3 separate regions of the Homo sapiens genome follow, and all the other regions are linked to region 2. The links are contacts of gene promoters, found by promoter capture Hi-C in human tissues and cell types (Jung and others, 2019). All regions are on one chromosome and are shown on one strand. Each heading gives the region's core, a stretch centred on a gene start or on the middle of the fragment in contact. The rest is flanking DNA. Distances are from core to core; before and after follow the strand shown. Region 1 has its middle 14 kb from the start of RECK. Region 2 holds the start of IL11RA (interleukin 11 receptor subunit alpha). Region 3 has its middle 2.9 kb from the start of ARHGEF39.

Evidence for each region. The method cuts DNA at HindIII sites, captures the fragments that hold promoters and counts their contacts. A contact is called where the count stands out against the background at its distance.
Region 1: a contact is called between a fragment that was not itself captured here and the fragment with the promoter of IL11RA in region 2, in 1 of the 25 tissues and cell types used here (spleen).
Region 3: a contact is called between a fragment that was not itself captured here and the fragment with the promoter of IL11RA in region 2, in 1 of the 25 tissues and cell types used here (dorsolateral prefrontal cortex).

Annotation. Positions count from the first base shown.
Region 1 is chr9:36,021,472-36,025,154 of GRCh38, reverse strand. It overlaps the pseudogene OR2AM1P. Among named protein-coding and RNA genes, the nearest start is that of RECK, 14 kb to the left of the region's middle. The HindIII fragment of the contact is 5,782 bases long and covers 1-3,683 here.
Region 2 is chr9:34,650,787-34,653,490 of GRCh38, reverse strand. IL11RA (interleukin 11 receptor subunit alpha) reads right to left here and starts at 1,306. Exons shown (of 13, transcript NM_001142784.3): 1 at 1,258-1,306. GALT (galactose-1-phosphate uridylyltransferase) reads right to left here. Exons shown (of 11, transcript NM_000155.4): 11 at 2,456-2,704. RefSeq lists a silencer at 1,251-1,350. The HindIII fragment of the contact is 13,062 bases long and covers 1-2,704 here.
Region 3 is chr9:35,666,381-35,669,785 of GRCh38, reverse strand. No RefSeq gene overlaps it. Among named protein-coding and RNA genes, the nearest start is that of ARHGEF39, 2.9 kb to the right of the region's middle. The HindIII fragment of the contact is 9,733 bases long and covers 1-3,405 here.

The sequences.
Region 1 (3,683 bases), core at 881-3,380, 1.4 Mb before region 2:
CCCCTTTCATGTGCCATCGGGGCTGAGAGTGTCTTGGAATTGGTGGTCTGTTGCAGGCCCAGTCCTTCTGGGCTTGTAGCATCCATAAGATGTTGGTCATTCTGGAGAAGTAAAGAACCATAAATATTCATGGATTCGCCCTTAACAAATATGGACTTTCTATCAGAGGTTTTATTTTCTCAACATCACCCACAACCTCTAGCTTGGGCACCAGCCCAGGATGGAGAAGGTGTTAAATTCCTCCCTATCCAATCAATAGAATCTTACACTAGTTCTATCTTTTCTGATTATCCTCTTCAATCTGACCAAGCTTCTAGCTAAGAAAGCACTCCATTTCTCCCTAAGGACATTGGAAACCTTAATTATTATATCGTGAATTCTCTTGCCTATACCTTTTAGTAAAGATAAAGGTAAACCCAAACTGCTGATAACCCCCAATTTTGCTCTTAATCTATAAAAGAGAAATTCTGGATTTTTAAAAACTCTCTTTTCTCTCAGAAAGCCTAATTTTTTTGAGATGAGGTCTCACTCTGTTGCCCAGGCTGGAGTGCAGTGGTGCAATCAAGGCTCACTCTGTGCAGCTTTGAACTCCTGGGCTCAAGTGGTCCTGCCCCAGCCTTCCAAGTAGCTGGGACCACAGGTGTGTGCTGTCACACCCAGCTAGTTTTAAATTTTTTTGTAGAGATGGGGTCTCACCATGTTTCCCAGGCTGGTCTGAAACTCTTGGCCTCAGGTGATCCTCCTGCCTTGGCCTCCCAAAATGCTGGGATTACAGGTGTGAGCCACCATGCCTGGCCAGAAAGCCTAATTTTTAAGATTATTGTCTAATTTGACACTCTAAGAGAAAAACAAACGTTTCATTCTAGGGAGTCTTTGTTCATCTCCATGAATTAATGAAACTATTGATTGAATAGGGGGAGCAAATGGGCAACTTGATTTTGGGAATATAAAACCACACTGGTCAAGGGTATCTCTTCTGGCAGCATGAACAATTAGATTCTCTGAGTATTCTCGTCTTGCTGAGTGTGAAACACAACTGAGCATGCTGAATAAAATGTAAAAACATTTTTTTAAAAGGTACTGATGAGCTTTCCAGAAACTAAGGGATACTCAAAGGCCAAAAATTAAGTGAAATCTGCAACCCAGAGACTTAAAAGCATTGACATTTTAGGCTTTTGCTATGAGGGAATTTGCCGGGCTGATGAACACCTCACAGGCTTGCTGATGCCCAAGGGCTTGGCTCACAGTAGGAGACTTGCGCGAGGACGTCTTCCTACCCTGCCTCTTCCTTCAGCCCTCCTGCCCTGGTCCCACATCTTCTAGGGCTTTGCTCCTCAAAGCGTGGCCTGCAGAGTTCAGCAGCATAGACATTACCTGGAAATCTGTTAGAGATGTAGAATGTCAGACCCTACCTCAGACTCACCGAATCCTTATCCACATTCTCAGATAACTCATGAAAACATTCAAGTTTGAGAAGCACCTATCTCAGGAGCTTGCAGAAATTTCAATTGTCAGCTTCAGCAATGTCCACCAGGTGGCAGGTTTGCAGCAGGCACAGGTAGCTAGAGCTGCAACCAGCCACCCAATTCTGTAAGTGGCACTGGAAGTTAGGAACAATTGCTCACGAACTGTGGAGGGAATGAATGGAGGGGCGACCCCAGAGGAGACCCCTAATCAAAGAGTGGCGGGTGGTGGGGTGCGAGCCATGAGTTCCCCCTCTCTGGCAGTCCCCAGTTGTATTGGCTAGTGACAGGGACGGGCTATACGCTCTCATTTTACAGACAAAGAAATCAAGGCCCAGAGAAGGAAGGAGACTTAGCCAAGTGCTCAGCAGCGGGAAATAGTGTTAGGGCTGGACTTGGAAGGCAGGTGTCAGGCTGCCTGGCCTGGGCTGAAAGCACTCTGTGGTCTATGCTGACCTGAGCGGCTGCCTCTCCACTCCCTCCCCTCAGATGCTCTTTGAACAGCTATCTTGTTTTCTCTGGAAGTGCTAGAAGCTGCTGTTATAATAATTCAATTCGGATGGCCAGTGGTATTTCCACATGATATAGTTTGGATACTTTCCTCACCCAAAACTCATATTGAATTGTAATCCCCAGTGCTGGAGCTGGGGCCTGGTGGGAGGTGTTTGGATCACGGGCAGATTCCTCATGGCTTGGTGCTGTCTTTGTGATAGTGAGTTCTCCCAAGATTCAGTTGTTGTAAAGTGTGGCACCTCCTGCCTGCTCTCTCTCTCTTTCTCTCTCTTTATCTTTCTCTCTCTTTCACTCACTCCTGCTTTGGCCATGTGAAGTGCCTGCTCCCACTTCACCTTCTGCCATGAGTAAAAGATCCCTGAGGCCTCCCCAGAAGTTAAGCAGATGCTGGAGCCATGTTTGTATAGTCTGCAGAACCATGAGCCAGTTAAACTTCTTTTCTTTATAAATTACCCAGTCTCAGGTATTTCTTTATAGCAGTACAAGAATGGCCTAATACACCACAATACTCAAGGTCCTGTGGCTAGAATCACTGCCTTGGAAGGTCAACTTTGAAAGGACCTCAAAGCCATGCAGTCTAAAACTAGCTTCTAGCAGGGGAGAGAAACAGCTAAGGTCCACGGAGGGGCTCCGACGGCCAGCCCCCACCCCAACCCCCACTGCCATGTCTTGTCATTAGTTCATTTGGGTTTTTTGTTTGCTTTTTTGTTGCTTTGTTTCTTTGGTTGCAATTATGCCTACTCTCATGTCAGAAAGGATTTGTGGTAACCCAAAAATGTATTCAAGGCCAAAAAATTAAAAATAGATAGGTAAGGAAATGGGGCAATGGGAAATTAAAAGTAGAAATGTGGGGGCACTTTCCCTCTAGGTCCTTTGATAGAAGCTTCCATTACTTGTGACACAACAGGGGACACTCAGTTTACTTGTTCGTCCTAGTCCCATGGTTCATGGCCTGGACCTTGGGAAAGTCCCTTCTTTCCTCTGAGTTATCATTTCCCCATGAGCACAGTGAGGTGCTTAGAGATCATATGTTCTGGCCACCTGGGATTCTGACAGTCTGTCATTCAGTTAGGGGTTTCTGAAATACCAGGTTCTTCACAGCAGCCTTCACACCCTTTTTCCTCAGGCTGTAGATGATGGTGTTCAGCATGGGGGTGACCACTCCATAGGAGAGGGAGATGAGTTTGTCTGCAAAATCCTGCTTGTCTGCCCCCAGTGGGTCCTTCGACTTGGGCTTCCCATGCGTGAAGAGGATGGTCCTGTAGAAGATGACCACAACTGTGAGGTGGGCAGAGCAGGTGGAGAAGGCCTTTTGCCTGATCATGTTGATAGAGATGTCAGCACAGGCCAACTTCAGGACAGCCAGGACCTCACAGGTCAAGTGGTTGATGATGTCCCCATAGAAGGGCAGGTGACTGATGACATTTAGTCTCTTCCCTTCCCTTAGGGCAGATGGGCCAAGAACTCCTCTGCTCTGGTGATATCAGCCAGGAGTCAGTCCCAGGTACCCTGTAACTCCAGTGCCAAGACTTTAAACTTTTACTGACCTTTAAGTAAATTTCACTTCACCAGTGAGCCTCTATGACTGGATAGCAAGGGGCCTCCTGCACGTTTTGGCCAAGTTGAAGTTCAGTTATCTCTGAACTTCCCTCCTCCTCATTCCCCATCAGCTCTCACGAAAGACACTGACTTGCTTCTGAGGCTGGT
Region 2 (2,704 bases), core at 57-2,556:
GGGGAAGGGAGGCCCCAGGTTGGGGGATATAAGGAGAGGCCAAAGAGTCCAGTTCCCCCTCCCCTGGAAGTTCCAGCCATTTCTCACCTCCCCCTCCATTCTTTGGGCCCCAGCACCAGGAAATGCCTTTGGTCCCTTGGTGCCAGATACACAAGACCCACAGTTACCCTCAGACTCATACACTCTCACATGCGGTCACTCACAGTCACACGGGCACAGCCACACCGCCTCAGACTCAGACACACTTACACATATTCATACACTCACGCAGTCACACACGCACACAGCCCCTACCAGGGCTCACAGCACCGCCTAAAAGCAACTCTTCATCATGGTCTAAGCCCCCTCTCTCAGGGAGCTCTTAGCCGGGGCAGACCCGCATCTCATCACTGTTACAGGCCCCCAACTAGCCAGAGATCAAGATCAGCAGGGAAGGCAGGCATAGGGGCACAGAGAGAGACAGAGAGAAAGGAAAGGCAAAACTGGAAATGCACCCACACAGAGAGACCAGGGGAACAAAGCTGTGAAGAAACACACAGAGGTATCTCTAGTAAGACAGCAATAGGGACAGAAAACGGCACGTAAGGGAAACTGAGCCAAGCAGGGAAACAGAAAATAAGGAGCAGTAGACCTGATGCTGGGGATTCTTGAGCAGAGGAAGGAGGGGAAGCCACGTGTGTTGTGGGTGTGTCTGTCAATGCTGGACACTTAAGAGAAAGGTCAGTCCCATGGGCTCTTGAGGTAGGTCCCCCAATACATGAATACAGCTGTACTCCCACACGGTTTAAGTTAGGACCCAGGACACACACATAGTCACAAACCTCACTTTTGCTCTGCTACTGCTGAAGTCACACATTGGCACACACAAAGCCAGCCACCCACTCTCACGCTGGCAGACATGGTCTCAAACCCCACAGAGACCTTCCCAAAACACATTCCCTCATGTGGTCACAGTCCCTCTCACACAAACACACAACCCAGTCCCACCAAAAATGTGCATTGACAGATACACACATAATCCCACACTTGCACAGCCACATGCACCTCCAGCTCCATGCACACTGACACACGCAGTCACATTAGCTGACAGCTGCACCAAGTGACACTCAGAATCGCACACAATGATACTGTCACACAGACACAGCCTCACAGGCACATACACACTGACAGTCGTTAGTCACTCCCGGCCTTTCAGATCATACATCACCCTGCCCCGCCCACTCCTGACAAGACTTTGGCGTCTACACCAGGCCTCACCTTCCGCGGCCGCTGCCGCCAGCGCCCTCTGCCCTCGCCCTCGCCCTCTGCCCCGGCCTCTACTCCCTCCCGCCCTGGGCCCCCGCAGCGGGGGTGGCTCCGCCCAGGCGCCAATGGAAGGAGAGGAGTGAAATAGGGGGGCTCCTGGCCCATTGGAGACTCCAACTGCCAATCACCTCCACCCCCACCTCCGCCGGACACTTCCTGTCCCGTCCCGGACTGAAGAGGCTGCTTGGGACAGAGTCTGGAGCTGGATTCCTGGGTCTCCGCCTGAAGGCCTATCCACCCTGGAACAGCAGGACTGGAAACAAGAGCCACTGGCCAGGTGATTGGAGAAGCTGAAGGTGCCCCTGACTCCAGATAAGATAAAGAAGAAGGAGGGCTGTGTAGGGCAGTGGTTCTCAAACTTTGCTGGATATTGTGGTTTGAAAACTGCAAAACCCCACCCCATACCAATTAAATCAGAGTCTCTGGAGGTTGGACCTAGGCACCAGTATTGTTTAAAACTTCCCAGATGATTCCAAAATGCAGCCAAATCAGAGGTGTAAGGTGTGTCGGGTATATGTATGCCTCAAGAAACCAGCCACCCACTCAGGGTTCTCATCTACTCCCCAGTCATGGGAAGCTCGAGGGAAATGTGTGCATACTATGTCTATCAGATCTTCCAGACCAGGGCAACACTCCCAAGTTCCAGGTACTTCCCCTCCAGGATCTCAGGGAAGAAAAACCCTGGTCTGGAAGGCAGGCAGCCAAGTTTCTCCTGGGCCAGATTCAGTCACTGTCCAGCCTTAGTGTGATTTCCCCACCCACAGGCTTGGTTCCCCTGGGGAAAGAACGAAGGCAAAAACCATTCTGGCCATCCCTGCATCATTCACAATGCCTGCCTTCGCCTTAAAATTTGGAGGACACCAGTGGCATCAGGTCTCCTGTGTTGCATAGACTGTTGTTCCCACAGCGTTGCCAGGGAAACAGGTCCAGAGGGGACTGAATAGACCCCAGGTCACTCTGAGAGCCATACCTTCCTTCCAGGCCCTAGGGTTCCTAACTCTAGCAGTCCCTTCTCTGTCAGAGCTGTTTCTGTTTGTGCAATGATTGGGGCACAAGGGCAGCAGAAGTATATGGTGCCCGCACATGTGAGAGTCTGGAGGAGCCAAGGACACAAAGCCACGTACACGCTCCCTACACACTCCCTACCCGCCCCTTTAGCCCCTGTGGGCTGGAGCAGAGCCAAGCTGCAGCCACTCACAAAGCCAGGGTTCTGGCCAGCAGCCCAGGATCTGGCCACTGACCACTGGGATCAGGATCCAGCTCACCCGCTCCCCATCAAACCCTCAGGCCCAGGCTTGGAGCTGACACCCTAGGGGTGGTGGCAAAGGGGGCTCTGGCCTTCCCAAAGCCTCAGCCACAACCAAGACACAAGATTTTAAAACAGTTTCCTAAACTGGGA
Region 3 (3,405 bases), core at 607-3,106, 1.0 Mb before region 2:
GTACATGGTAATATCTGAATTGGATGGGCCTATACAAGACAGAATGTGGTAACGACTAATCCAGCTCTCTGTTACAGCTCACTCATTTTTCAAATGCGATTCCCTATGGCTCTGTTTCTCTGTCTCTCTCGTCTCTGGTCTGAGTGGAGAATGTGGACTCTGACCCTGGATCATGCTGGGAGTCTGCCAAACCCTCAAACAGGTTTGAGTTATTGTTTCCTGAGTCTCCCCGGGTTGGGACAGAGTATACTCAGGACTGACTGACCAGGGCACCCCACACCTGGATCAGGACCTCTCTGTGGTTATTATAGGCCAAGTGTTTGCTCATGAGGGTTTGTGTTTTCAAACACTGAGGGGTCATGTTACTAAAACATGTCTCTGCCTATCCCAGCATGGCAGAGGAGGAAACTATTCACTGGTGGGGTAGAAGGGAAAATGCTCCCTCTCCCAAGCCATAGCTTGGGGGCAAAGACTGATCAAATTCCTTGTAGAACCTTGAGGCTGACTTGTAGTTCTGGCTACCTCCCCATCTATATTCATTTCCAAGGGCTGCTGTAACAAATTACCACCAAGTGGGTAGCTTAAAACAACAGAAATGGATTTTTTCACAGTTCTGGAGGCCAGAGTCTGAAATCAAGGTTTTGACAGGACTGGACTCTCTCTGAAGGCTCTGGGGAAGAATCCTTCCTTGCCTCTTCTAGCTTCTGGCGGCTCCAGGCATTCCTTGACTTGTAGCTGCATTACTCCAACTTCACATGGCCTTCTCTTGCCCCTGTGTCTCCACTGGGTGTCTCTCACTGAGACACTTGTCATTGGATTTAGGGCCTACCAACATAATCCAGAATGATCTCATCTCAAGATCCTTAACTAATTATGTCTGCAAAGACCCTTTTTCCCAACAAGGTCACATATACAGGTCTTGGGGATTAGGACATGGACATGTCTTTATATGGGGCCACCATTTAGTCCACCATCAGTGCAGGGGAACTGACGTGGACGCACAGGATGAGAAGGGATGAGTTCGTATTGAAGACTCTCATGCTTTTGCCCTTATCCTGCTACTTATCTTTGCAAGGCCGTGTCATCCACTCCCATGGCTCCTATAAATTGATGACACCCAAGTATTCCCAGGCTGGACTCTCTCCCCATGCCAGACCCATAACCATCTGCCTAATAGACAAGACCCAAGACATCTCCACTTGGATGTCCCACAAGTATTTCAAGTTTAACAGGCCCCAGGTTGAATTTGTCTTCCCCGCAAATCTCCTTTTCATCCTCCTTCAGTGAATAGCACCACCCTCCACCTAGAAGCCAGAAACCTGGTACCATCTCTACTTTCATCTTTTCCTTCACCCTAGCATTCAATAACCATGCCCTATGGATTCTACCTTCTAAATTTTTCATCTACATTTTTCATCTTGGCTCATACTTTCGTCACCTCTTACCTGGATGACTGCAACTGCCTCCTGATGGGTCTTGCTGAGTCCAGCCAACCAGAGTGATGTTTCTAAAATGGCACATCTGATGATCTCACTCCCTGTTTAAGGCCTTTCAATGGTTTCCCATTGCCCTTAGGATAAGGTTCACAGTACCTGACGTGGCCTTCAGAGGGCCGCCATTGCCCTGGTTTCCATGGTGGGCTTGTGACCTAGGGAGGTCCAATCAGTGAAGCTCTCTGTCTGAAGTATTTGATGGCTAAGGGAACCAACTCTGCGGACAACACATAAAGAAGCACACAGCCATTGTAACTGTGGGCAGCCATCTTGTACCCACAATGGAAGCCAGCCTTAAGATGAAGGTAAAACCATGGAAGGCACAGTGGAGTGGTGGAAAGAGGTCCTTGGTAACATGATTGAGCTGCTGGATTAGGCCAACACTAGGGCCCACCTGCTTCTGGACTTTTCAGTTGCATGAGCCAATAAATTATCTTAATGTTTAGCCACTTTGAATTTATTATTACTTATATCACAATTTTACTGATATAAATTCCTTCTAAGTTTGGCCTCTGTCTACCTCTCCAGTCTCCTTTGTCATCACTCTCTCCCTTGCAGTCTATGCTCTCATCTTACAGAACTTCTAGCAGTTCCTTAAATTCATCGTATGCTTGCATATGTGTGTGTCCAAGCCTTTGTCCATGCTGTTTGACTCTTTTTTCCACTTCCCTTGCTGCCAGCGCCCAGCTCTGCCTAGCCAGGTTTTATTCATCCTTCAGGTCATCAGTTCACATATCACTTCTTTGAGAAGAAGCCTTCCCTGACTCCTACACTAGGATCAGTCCCTTCACTGCATGCTTGTGTAGAAGACTACATGTCTCTTGTAATGTTTCCTCATTTTATGGTGACTCCTTACTGTATCTGCCATGCTGGAGTGTAAGCTCCCTGTGGGCAGGGGTCATATGTCTCTTGCCCACCATTTCATCTTCATGCCTAGCACAGGACCTGGCACATGATTGGCATTTAATTTTTTTTTTTTTTTGAGACAGAGTTCCGCTCTTATTGCCCAGGCTGGAGTGCGATGGCATGATCTCGGCTCACTGCAACCTCTGCCTCCTGGGTTCAAGCGATTCTCCTGCCTCAGCCTCCCAAGTAGCTGGGATTACAGGCACGTGCCACCATGCCCGGCTAATTTTGTATTTTTAGTAGAGACGGGGTTTCACCACATTGGTCAGGCTGGTCTCTGACAACACATAAAGAAGCACACAGCCATTGTAACTGTAACTCCCGACCTCAGGTGATCCGCCTGCCTCAGCCTCCCAAAGTGCTGGGATTACAGGCGTGAGCCACCATGCCCAGCCTAATTTTGTTGAATGACTGATGATTGTTGTTCAAAGCATCCCTAGTGCTTCTCCAGCATCCATCGGATTGAAAGCAAAATTTGAGGATAATTAAAGAATAAAGGGGTTATTGACTATCCTCTGAACCTCCTCCTGTTGGCCCCTCCTATCTTTGGCTGTGGGAGCGGAGTTTAGCAGCTGTTCCAGGTAGAGTATGGTGTGCCTGACTTGCTCTGTGGGAGACTCGGTCCCCAGGGAATTAGTTGTCACCAACTGTTTTCAGTGTGTCTTCTCGGCTTTGCCCTCTTCCTCTTCTAGAGTTGAATGATTCCCCAACCGATGCTCACAGGAGGCTCTATTCCCCACCCCTCTTCCACCCACCCAAAGCACTAACACACACTGGCAGCATTCACAAACACACCCATCACCAACTGCACCCCAGGTGTTGTGGTCTACTCTCATCACCTGGGCTCACAGTGACACCAATTACCATGGGATTATCTGTCCTCTTCCATGTTTGAGCTCTTAGTGTGTGGACTGTCCCACATTCACTTGAGACAGTGTAACCAGTCCTTTACCTATCTGGTATCACCACCAGTTTCCTTGGGACATAAGCCCAAGGTACAGTCTGA